3 separate regions of the Homo sapiens genome follow, and all the other regions are linked to region 2. Evidence: promoter capture Hi-C in 16 types of primary human blood cells and fetal thymus (Javierre and others, 2016). All regions are on one chromosome and are shown on one strand. Each heading gives the region's core, a stretch centred on a gene start or on the middle of the fragment in contact. The rest is flanking DNA. Distances are from core to core; before and after follow the strand shown.

The links. Contacts are between HindIII fragments. The CHiCAGO score rates a contact against its expected background, and 5 or more counts as called.
Region 1: a fragment that was not itself captured here is called in contact with the fragment with the promoter of THBS1 in region 2 in 2 of 17 cell types (activated CD4 T cells and total CD4 T cells); the score reaches 8.3 in activated CD4 T cells.
Region 3: a contact is called between a fragment that was not itself captured here and the fragment with the promoter of THBS1 in region 2, in 1 of 17 cell types (total CD8 T cells). The highest score is 6.1, in total CD8 T cells.

Annotation. Positions count from the first base shown.
Region 1 is chr15:38,426,727-38,430,375 of GRCh38, forward strand. No RefSeq gene overlaps it. Among named protein-coding and RNA genes, the nearest start is that of FAM98B, 26 kb to the right of the region's middle. The HindIII fragment of the contact is 672 bases long and covers 1,907-2,578 here.
Region 2 is chr15:39,579,247-39,582,913 of GRCh38, forward strand. It overlaps THBS1 (thrombospondin 1), which reads left to right and starts at 1,833. Exons shown (of 22, transcript NM_003246.4): 1 at 1,833-1,982; 2 at 2,583-2,678; 3 at 2,947-3,506. The coding sequence starts at 2,612. LOC124903470 reads left to right here and starts at 561. Exons shown (of 1, transcript XM_047433405.1): 1 at 561-1,748. The coding sequence starts at 1,072. The coding sequence ends at 1,506. RefSeq lists an enhancer at 924-1,661 and silencers at 1,084-1,313, 1,324-1,373. The HindIII fragment of the contact is 3,699 bases long and covers 562-3,667 here.
Region 3 is chr15:38,478,582-38,482,279 of GRCh38, forward strand. FAM98B (family with sequence similarity 98 member B) reads left to right here. Exons shown (of 8, transcript NM_173611.4): 7 at 2,711-2,878. Among named protein-coding and RNA genes, the nearest start is that of FAM98B, 26 kb to the left of the region's middle. The HindIII fragment of the contact is 602 bases long and covers 1,381-1,982 here.

The DNA of each region.
Region 1 (3,649 bases), core at 993-3,492, 1.2 Mb before region 2:
ATGGTGGCTCGGTGGCACAGTGGGTGTTGGATGCCATAAAAGGTACTTGTGATGACTCATTGGTGAGAAAAATAGATACACAGAATATTTAGAGGAGAATTGGAAAGACTGGATTGAAATTCAAGGTCCCTCACTAAGTCTCCTTGTCCTTTCCCTCCCCCATGCTTTTGGAACATGTTCTTAAAATTTATTATATTTTATTTTATTGACTGATTTATTTTTCAGAGACAAGTTCTTACTCTGTCACTCAGGCTGGAGTGCGTGGTGCAATCATGGGTTACTACAGCCTTGAACTCCTGGGCTCAAGAAATCCTCCCATCTCAGCCTCTCAAGTAGCTGAGATTATAGGCACACACCATCATGCCTTAAAATTATTATTTTAAATGTACAATTCAAAGGGGGAAGTTCTCAGATCTATGTGCTATTGCTCAGACTGAAAATATATGCAAATATTTAGTACAAGAGTTTTTTCCAAACTTTACTTTTTATTTAGTCATCTAAAGAACTTTAAAATATACAGATTCCTAGACCCCATCCCCTCCACTGGATCAGAATCTCTGAGGATGGAGCCTGGAAGTGCCTGTCTAGAAAGCCCTCCAGGTGGTTCTGACATCCCTGCTTCTGGGCCAGCTGTGAGTGAAGTCAGTCAAACCCCTGTGTTTTTGCATTCTTAATTAAATAACATGGAAAAGCTAGGACCCAAAATACAACTGGAATGATTCCTTGCAGCAGCAGTTCTCAAAAAATGATTGTTGAATGAGAAATCTTTGCTCAAAGAAATGTTAGCCTGATCTGTAAACTGTGAGGCCAACAAGAGGATCAACCTGAATTACTCCAGCAGGTGGTGGTATGGGATGTAGAGGTAGGGGTGAGGTTAGCTGCATCCTGCCTTTGGCTGAGAGGCTCACTCACACTTCTGTCACCTTTTGTGTAAAGAATAGCAGCAGGATCCAGCATTCTCCATTCTCTTCTCCAGTCAGAAACATTGAATTGCCAAATATATTTTCCTGAAAATCTCTCTCTCTCGTCTCTCTCTCTCTTCATCTCTTTTGAGACTGGCTCTAGCTATATAACCCAGGCTGGTCACAAACTTCTGGCCTCAAGCAATCCTCCCACCTCAGCCTCCTGAGTACCTGAGTAGCTGGAATTACAACCACAAGCCACCATGCCTGACTAAAAACCTCTTTTTGTCTTGATATTCCTCTAATCAGAAATCTGCATTGGCACTTTAGTTCCTACCAGATAAAATAGAAATCTGGAGGTCTGGTGTTTCAAGACTGGTCTCAATCTACATTTCCAAACTTATATTCCATTCCTCTCCCTTTTGGAGGTCTTCTCCTGGCCCGAGCTGTCCTGGTTACTCTTTCCATAATTGTTTTCAACTTCCTTACCTTAACCCCTTTCTGGAATGTCTTCTTTCTCACCCAGGTTGAAATTTTACTCTTCAGTCAAAGCCCCACTCCCTTCCTGTGCCTTGGTGGAAGAGTTTTCTCCACTGCTGCTGGTCTGTAATGGCCTCTCCTGCCTCTGAGGTGCTATTAAGACTGACTGCCTATGTTACTTTTGGCCTTGACTATAACTAGTAACTATAGCTTTGAAAACAGGATGATATTGGATTATTATTTATTTTCCCCTCAGGGTATATAGTTCAGCACCTTGTACAAAATATGCATTCAACAAACAGAAGTCAATTTATTGAATATTAGATGTTATTTATTAGTTACTTAGAAATATAACCTCATATAAATGTCAAGAGTATGGGGGTTTGAATGGTAATTCTTCTACATCAAAGCATGGCATAGTAGGTACTGTGAAATGCACCCTGCTCTCCCCCATTGAATATGTATGCACACACACACACACACACACATACAAACACACACACACACACACACACACACACACAAGCTTATCTTTGGAGTTCAGGTGAGAGCATCTTAACCTCAGAAAACGTTATCAGGCTTGTATTAGTCAAGAGTAACTCCTAAAAGTAGCTTGAACAAAGTAGCTTTAAAAAACAGGAGCGTATTAGCCTCTGTGATGGGCAATTCAAGAGATGGATTTTTTAGGCAGAGCTAGATTGAGGGGTTCCAGTGTGCCCCAGCTCTGCTTTAATCCATGTTGATTTAATTCTCAGGCAAATTCTTTCCACGCGATGATGGAATAACTCCAAGTTCAAGTCCTTACAATGGGAGATCCCAGAGAACAGAGAGCATCTCTTTCCAATACCATAGAGACCTGCTCTATGAGTGACCACTGCTTTCTTATTGATGATGTCCCTGGAACTATTCTGCTACATCCATGTATTACAGGGGACACCCCGTGGCAATCCTAATCCCTAGTTAATCCCCACTTTCCTAATCCTACTTCAGAAGCAGCCTCCAATCCAGAACCGATGTTCAGTTCCTGGATCCTGCTCAAAATCCTTCAGTGAAACACACACTGTACAGAAGACGTTTCCTGCTCCTTCTTGTTGAGTGGTCTGCCACAGTGCTTCTGCCATGTGCTCCCTCACTGAAAATCAATACATCTGATTTTGTCAGATTATACATTGTGCCCAGTGGTCTTTGGCTAATTAAGCTTTAACAGGGAAAGAGGAGAAATGAGCTGCTATATATTGCTTTTACCCTAAATTAGTCCCTAGAGGATGTTTTCTGATCATATTTTTTTCCTGTGTCCTTGACTTCCTTAAGCAGCGCCTGTTCATTTTCACTGGAAATGTTCCAAATGGATCAGAATAATTTTGACATTGTGTCACCAGGGACATCCTCCTTTTAATATCTAGCATCACACAAAAACAAACATTGCATTAGTCCTGAAAGAGTTCTGACTCTACATAATTAATTTTCAACACAAAACTAATATAAATAGGAATGTGGAAAAAATAGGTATTAAAGGTAAAATGGAGGCTGGGCACAGTGGATCATGTCTGTAATCCCAACACTTTGGGAGGCTGAGGCAGGAAGATCACTCGGGCCCATGAGTTCAAGACCAGCCTGAGCAACATGGTGAGACCTCATTTCTACAAAAACATACAAAAATTAGCCAGATGTGGTGTGTGTGCCTGTACTCCCAACTAATCAGGAGGCTGAGGTGGGAGGATCACATGAGCCTGGGACGTTGAGGCTGCAGTGAGCCATGATGTGGGTTTGAATGGTAATTCTTCTACATTAAAGCATGGCATGGTAGGTACTGTGAAATGCACCCTGCTCTCCGCCATTGAATATGTATGCACACACACACAGCCTGGGTGGTAGAGCAAGACCTTATCTCAAAAAAAAAATTTAAAGATAAGATGGAAATGGAAATATGACAGATCAAGATAGTGACTGCTTGTAGCCCAATGTAAACTTATCTGTTTGAATTTCTTCTCTTTAGAAGCTTATTTCTATACCATTAAGTTCATGTTATCTGTGCTGCTTAACAAACCTATTTGCCAACTTCAAATAACTATTTCACCAACCTCGTGGATTCTTTGGGTCAAGAATTCAGAAAGGATACAGTGGGGATGGCTTATCTCCTTTTGGTATATCTGGGACCTCAGCTGACAATGACACAAACACTGGGAGTGATGATGGCTGGGAGCAAATGTCAGCTGGAGGTTTTGTCTTTCACATGTCTGGCAGTCGATGCTTGCTGTGTGCTGGGA
Region 2 (3,667 bases), core at 583-3,082:
CCCAGAGCCATGAGCGGCCCATCCCTCCAAGAACTATTTCTGACTGTCCAGTATCATGGAGCAAGTGGAAAGAAGAAAAAAAAAACCCAATTACTTTTCGAAGAGCAAGATGAATGCTGTAGAAGGAGAAGGAAGGGGAGGGAGATGGATGGGTGCCGATTCCAGAATCTTCAGATCTGCTTGGATGAATCATTACCTATGATTTGCGGGACAAGAATCTGATTTTATTCATCAACCAGTAGAAACTTTTCTTTCTGCCTCCCAACATCTGAAATCCAACAAACATGTGCCTTAGGAACATACCGGTCATCTTTTAGAGGCATTTTATATACATATTGAGTAACTAGAAAACACTCTTTCCGTAATACACACACACACACACACACACACACACCATCTTGTCATACAACACTCCCACGCAAGAAAAGCGAAACTGCTGTTTGATGAATGTAAACACTTGGCTGTTTGCAGCAGTCGGGAGTCCTGCCAGGTTTAAGTGCTAAGATGGGAGGTGAACCCCAGGGGTTTCCCCCTGCCCGTGCTGAGATCCTTATTTGGTCAAGCTTCTACCTATGCCCTGGCCTCGGAGCGAGCCCGATAGCGCTGGATCACAGCAGAGGGAGCGAGGCGGCTGACGTCCCATCCCGAAGAGATGAATGGAATTCCAGGAAGCTAGAGTCATGCTGGCTTGGGACAGTGGCTTGGAGACCAGACTTCAATGACAGAAGCACTAGGCAGCGGCACTCATGGCAATGTGTGCACCCACAGAAATGTAACCCACACCTCGGGTTCAGGAGCCGAAAAATGAAAAGAACGTTTAGGGAGGAAAAAGGGAAATACAATAATAGGCAGAGAGTAATTTATTACTCTATGGGTCTGCTCTGTAAATAGCTGAAGACTCTGGAGCCAGATGGTTCTGCAAATTCTCCAAACAGGAGTCACGTTAAGAAGCACGAGTGGGCACAAAAACTGTTTTTCAAGACACAATTTCAATTTGGCTTGTGGAAACTGGATACGAGTAAGTTTCCTTAAAATTCGAGTAGAAAGCAGCTGTCCTCCCCGGGCCCCTTGATGAGAATACGCACACCGCCCCCAAGCGGCCGGCCGAGGGAGCGCCGCGGCAGCGGGAGAGGCGTCTCTGTGGGCCCCCTGGCAGCCGCGGCAGGAAAGGGCCCGAAGGCAGCGAAGGCGAACGCGGCGCACCAACCTGCCGGCCCCGCCGACGCCGCGCTCACCTCCCTCCGGGGCGGGCGTGGGGCCAGCTCAGGACAGGCGCTCGGGGGACGCGTGTCCTCACCCCACGGGGACGGTGGAGGAGAGTCAGCGAGGGCCCGAGGGGCAGGTACTTTAACGAATGGCTCTCTTGGTGTCCCCTGCGCCCCGTCGGCCCATTTTTCTTTTTACAAAACGGGCCCAGTCTCTAGTATCCACCTCTCGCCATCAACCAGGCATTCCGGGAGATCAGCTCGCCCGAAAGCCCCTGCGCCACCCCGCGGGCCCTCCTAGGTGGTCTCCCCAGCCCCGTCCCTTTTCGGGATGCTTGCTGATCACCCCGAGCCCGCGTGGCGCAAGAGTACGAGCGCCGAGCCCGTGCGCGCCAAGGCTGCGTGGGCGGGCACCGACTTTTCTGAGAAGTTCTAGTGCTCCCAAGCCCCGACCCCCGCCCCCTTCACTTTCTAGCTGGAAAGTTGCGCGCCAGGCAGCGGGGGGCGGAGAGAGGAGCCCAGACTGGCCCCCACCTCCCGCTTCCTGCCCGGCCGCCGCCCATTGGCCGGAGGAATCCCCAGGAATGCGAGCGCCCCTTTAAAAGCGCGCGGCTCCTCCGCCTTGCCAGCCGCTGCGCCCGAGCTGGCCTGCGAGTTCAGGGCTCCTGTCGCTCTCCAGGAGCAACCTCTACTCCGGACGCACAGGCATTCCCCGCGCCCCTCCAGCCCTCGCCGCCCTCGCCACCGCTCCCGGCCGCCGCGCTCCGGTACACACAGGTAAGTCGCCCCCGGCGGCCGCCGAGGACCAAAGCTGCCCGGGACATCCACCTGGAGCGCTGAGGCTTCAGTCCCTCTGGTGGACCCCGGAACCTACACTCTCCCCGCTCGCCTACCCCAGCCCGCTCCTCTCAGCCGCTGGAGGACTCTTCAGGGCAAGGCTCCAGAGCCATCCTCTCCAGCCTTGAGGTTCACAAACCAACTCATCAGGACACCCCAAGATTTCCTTACTCTCTGAAGTCCTCCTTAAGCCTTTGTATCAGCACTCCAGGGAAGAGTCTGTACTTCCCCTGCCCTCCCTGCAACCCCAAACTACAGTTCCTGATCTTGCTCACCTTCGACTTCCCAAAAGCCCCCAAATTGTTGGTCTTGCGCCCCCCACACTTTAAAACCAGCATCTCTTTCCTCCACCTCTCTCTCTCTCTCTCTCTCTCTCTCTCATGCTCTCTGGAAAGTAATCCTGTTGTCCTTCATTTCAGCAAACGCGGGGTCAAAGAGGGATGGTCCCGGCCCTGTCCCCATGCCCAGCCCCGTTTCTGCGCACCGTCCCTCCCTGCCTAGCTGATCTCTGACCCTCGGCTCTTGTGCTTCCTGCTACAGGATCCCTGCTGGGCACCAACAGCTCCACCATGGGGCTGGCCTGGGGACTAGGCGTCCTGTTCCTGATGCATGTGTGTGGCACCAACCGCATTCCAGGTGAGTTTGTGTGGCACCTTTAGGGGAAGGAGGGACAAGGAAGAGGTGCTGGCTATCCCAGGTGTGCCCCCTCACGTGCTGTCCTCTCCCTCTTGAGCCTGACTGGACATCAGGACGCAGCTTCACTCTGATCCTGGTATTTATTCACCTCTTTCAGTGGTTGCCAGGAGTTTTCACCCCAACCCTTTGTCTCCACCCCTAAGGACTCAGCCCCCTACTGCTGGTCCCAGCCTAGAAAGCTCACTTTGTGTTCTCTCCTGTCTAACAGAGTCTGGCGGAGACAACAGCGTGTTTGACATCTTTGAACTCACCGGGGCCGCCCGCAAGGGGTCTGGGCGCCGACTGGTGAAGGGCCCCGACCCTTCCAGCCCAGCTTTCCGCATCGAGGATGCCAACCTGATCCCCCCTGTGCCTGATGACAAGTTCCAAGACCTGGTGGATGCTGTGCGGGCAGAAAAGGGTTTCCTCCTTCTGGCATCCCTGAGGCAGATGAAGAAGACCCGGGGCACGCTGCTGGCCCTGGAGCGGAAAGACCACTCTGGCCAGGTCTTCAGCGTGGTGTCCAATGGCAAGGCGGGCACCCTGGACCTCAGCCTGACCGTCCAAGGAAAGCAGCACGTGGTGTCTGTGGAAGAAGCTCTCCTGGCAACCGGCCAGTGGAAGAGCATCACCCTGTTTGTGCAGGAAGACAGGGCCCAGCTGTACATCGACTGTGAAAAGATGGAGAATGCTGAGTTGGACGTCCCCATCCAAAGCGTCTTCACCAGAGACCTGGCCAGCATCGCCAGACTCCGCATCGCAAAGGGGGGCGTCAATGACAATTTCCAGGTGAGGCTTCTTCTCTGAGCCCTGCTCCGTGGGATCATCTGCTAGACAGGTGACCTGCCAGGAGGGCTACAGGAAATCCTGTCTGTAAACTAACGCAGCAGTTCTCAGATTTTAGGCAGCATGAGCATCACCTGGAGGGCTTGTGAAAGCTCACCCTGCTG
Region 3 (3,698 bases), core at 432-2,931, 1.1 Mb before region 2:
GTATTCATAGACACTGAGGTTTTCTCTAATTTTGCCTCTTTGACCCTGTAATAAAATCCTTGACAGCTAAATTTTTGTTCATGTCCATGATGTATTCCTAAAAGTGAACTATTTGATTAAGGGAAATGATTTTAAGGCTGTTGATGCATACTCCAGAGTTGCCCTTCAAACAGATTATAGTCATTTATTAGAAAGGTTATGTAGTTTCTTTTCTTCACTGTTTTACTAGTATTGAGATAATATTGTGAATGTAATTTTATAGCTTGCTTTTTCACTAAATATATTGTAACCATTTTCCAATATCTCTAAAAACTCTATTTTAGTACCCTTTTTAAAATTAACTCTTAATTTTTTTGAGATATAATTAACATAAAATTTACCATTTTATTTTTATTTTTGAGTTGTAGTCTTGTTGTTGCCCAGGCTGGAGTGCAGTGCCATCATCATAGCTCACTGCAACTCACTGGAGGGTCAAGTGATCCTCCCACTGTGGCCTTCGCTCAGGCAGCTGGGACTACAGACGTGTGCCACCACACCTGGCTAATTAAAAATTTTGTTTTATTTTTTATAGAGACAGGGTTTTGCCATGTTGCCCAGGCTGGTCTCAAACTCCTGGCCTCAAGTAATGCTCCCACTTCAGCCTCCCAAAGTGCTGAGATTACAGGAATGAGCCACTGTGCCTGGCCAAAATATACCATTTTAAAGTGTACAATTCAGTGGTTTTTAGTCTGTTCACTGTGTTGTGTAACCCTATATGTAATTCCATAACACTTCCATCATCCCAAAATGACATAGCTACCTCTCAGCAGTCATTCCCAATATTCCCTACCTCCATGCCCTGGCAACCATTACTATAATATACTTTACATTTCCATGGATTTGCCTATCTGGACATTTCATATAAATGGAATCATACAATATGTGGCTTCTGCATCTGGCTTTGATTTAGCATAATGTTTCCAAGGTTTATTCATGTCATAGCATGTAACAGTACTAAATTTCTTTCAGTATCCTTCTTATGGCTGCATTATATTTTATCATTTAGTGATTCAATAGTTTACTTCTCTTATTTTATACATTTTTTTCTATATTAACAATACCAGGCATGTTTCTGTGTTTAATTTTTATATATAAATTTCAGAGTAAAATTTTATGGTGGATTCCTTAAAGGAAATTTACTGTGTCAAAGGTTTTGTCTCTTAATGCTCTCGCTTCCCATGGCCAAATTGTTTTCCACTTAAGTTTATATGAATTTAAACTCCTTCCAGTAAGGTAAATGAAATGTTGTGTCACTTTAGCCTCTTTATTGCTAACTTGATGTTAAAAAGACTAACTTGTTTTGTCTGTTCTTATTATTGACAAAGTTGAACTGTTTTCATAAGCTTATTAGTCATTTGAATTTCCTCTTTTTAACTTCTATTTATGTCTTGTCATTTTTTTTTCCTGTAAAATTCTGTTTTCTTTTTGTGTTTGAGGTTTTTATATAGAAAGGAAGTTTGCTGGTTGAATTATTTGTTGAAAATATTTTCCCCAGTTGTCATTAGATGTTGTTTTATATCTTTTAAAGTACAGAAATTTTAATTTTTATAATGTAGTTGTTTTTAAATTGAAAATTAAACCTCAAACAGTTAACTTTTTGTTCTCTTTGGAATTCCCTTTGTTATATGGTGTGCTGTATTATTGTTATTATTACAGATAGCCACCAGGTCATTCCAGCACCATTTAAAAGATAATCCTTTCCTTTTCTCGTTGATCTGTGATGTCTCCTTTATCATTTATTGCATTCATAGATTTATGAGGCTCTGAGTCTCAATATACTATTTCATCAATCTATGTTTTTTTCTCCCAAGTTCTAGTTAATTAGATGGAGGTAGGATAGCAAACTGTTATCTATACTAGACCTGTGCTTGGGGGTCAGGTAGACCTTTGTTGCTAAGTGGGCAGAGCTAGGATTCTCTCTATATTTTGGGGAAACTAACTTAAGCTTTCTATGCCTCATTTTTTTTTTCCATCTGCAAAAGGGGATAATAAAAACCAACCACTCTAAAAGGATATTTTGAGGATTAAAGAAATAATGCCTTACTAAGTGAACAGCATCCTGGCACATTTAATAAGTTCTCATTAAATGTTAACTGATAAGATGATGATAATTTTGTATTATAGCATATTAGTATTTGGTAGGATTATATTTCAAAATGCTTTTAGTTATTCTTACATATTGAGTTTCTGGATTTAACTTTAGATTTTTTTTTCATTCTCTCAAAAACTATTTATATAGGATTATAAGTTAATTTGGGGGAAAACTGACAATAATACTTAATGTTCCCATACAGAAACTTGGTATTTCTTACCATTTATACAAGTTTTCCTTTTGTTTTTGCAAGATTTACTGATGTTTCCCTTTTAAATGTCCTGTATGTGGTTTTGGTAAAACTATTTTTTAGGTATTTTTTGTTAATATGTATAGAAATTTTTTTGTTATTATTTTTTAGCGAGTTGTTGCTGGTAGTTACATATTTTTAACACCTGTTGGTCTATTTTATTTGTTCTAAATTATTCATAAATTCTCAGATATTTGGGTGTTTTTGCTCTTTTCTAACTCCTTGCTTATGCATTATCTCCTTTTCTTTATTTCTAAAGATTATGATTGTTTTTGCTCTTTCATTAAAATGTACTTTTGTTCCTTTTTTCCTTAACTCTTGTCATTTAGGTAAAAACAGATGATATAGCAAGAATTTATCAGCCTAAGCGTTATGCTTTGTCACCCAAGACAACGATTACAATGGCACATCTACTTGCTGCTCGTGAAGATCTATCCAAGATCATTAGGACAAGTAGTGGCACCAGCCGGGAGAAGACCGCATGTGCCATTAATAAGGTTGGTGTTTCTTTCAGTACAGTGGAAAATGAATTGATGATATCTTACTTAATGTTTTTACAGATTTTAGTCTATTTTTCTTTCATGTCCTGGTAAATGTTTAGAAAAAAGAGTGGCAGGGGGGTTCAGTCTAGGCTTAGTTATGTTATTTTTGTGTATGTGTGTATGTTCACTTGAATTTGTGTATTCATAAATCAAAGTATTTTCTGAATTAGAGGAATTATGAATTGTTTTTGTCAAAGCTTTAGCAAGAATTATGTTCCATCTTTCTAAAAAGTAATCATTTTTTGTCAGTAAGAATCTTTCGGAATTGTTTCAAGTACTGACAGATTCGTTATATCCTTGGTGTAAAGGGAAGAAGAGTTTGTGCTTTAGAGTCAGACCAATCTGGGTTCCCATCCTGGCTCTGTCATTTACTTACAGAAATGACCCTGAGCAAGCTACTGAACTTCTTTGAGCTTCTGTTTCCTGATTTGGAGTATACATCCATTTCTCTGACAGTAGTCTATTTAAACAAGCTCAAGGAGTCTGAATTTTTCACTTTACAACAGCAATAACAATAAAGTAATTTAGTATGTTTATGTCAGCTTAACTGGCATGTCCTCTTCATTTAGGTAGAGCACTCCATGGCAAACTTTATTACAAAAGAGCAAAAAATCAGAAATAAGGGATTTGGATAATTTTAAAGCATCGCTTCTCACTCAGTGTAACTTGAGATAAAATACCTTTTCAGAGGGATGGTTGTTTTTAAAGTCATTTTGCTAACTATTGCTAAGTTAGGCATCACCAGTGTTTGCCTCTGTGCTTCCACTGTGGCTCA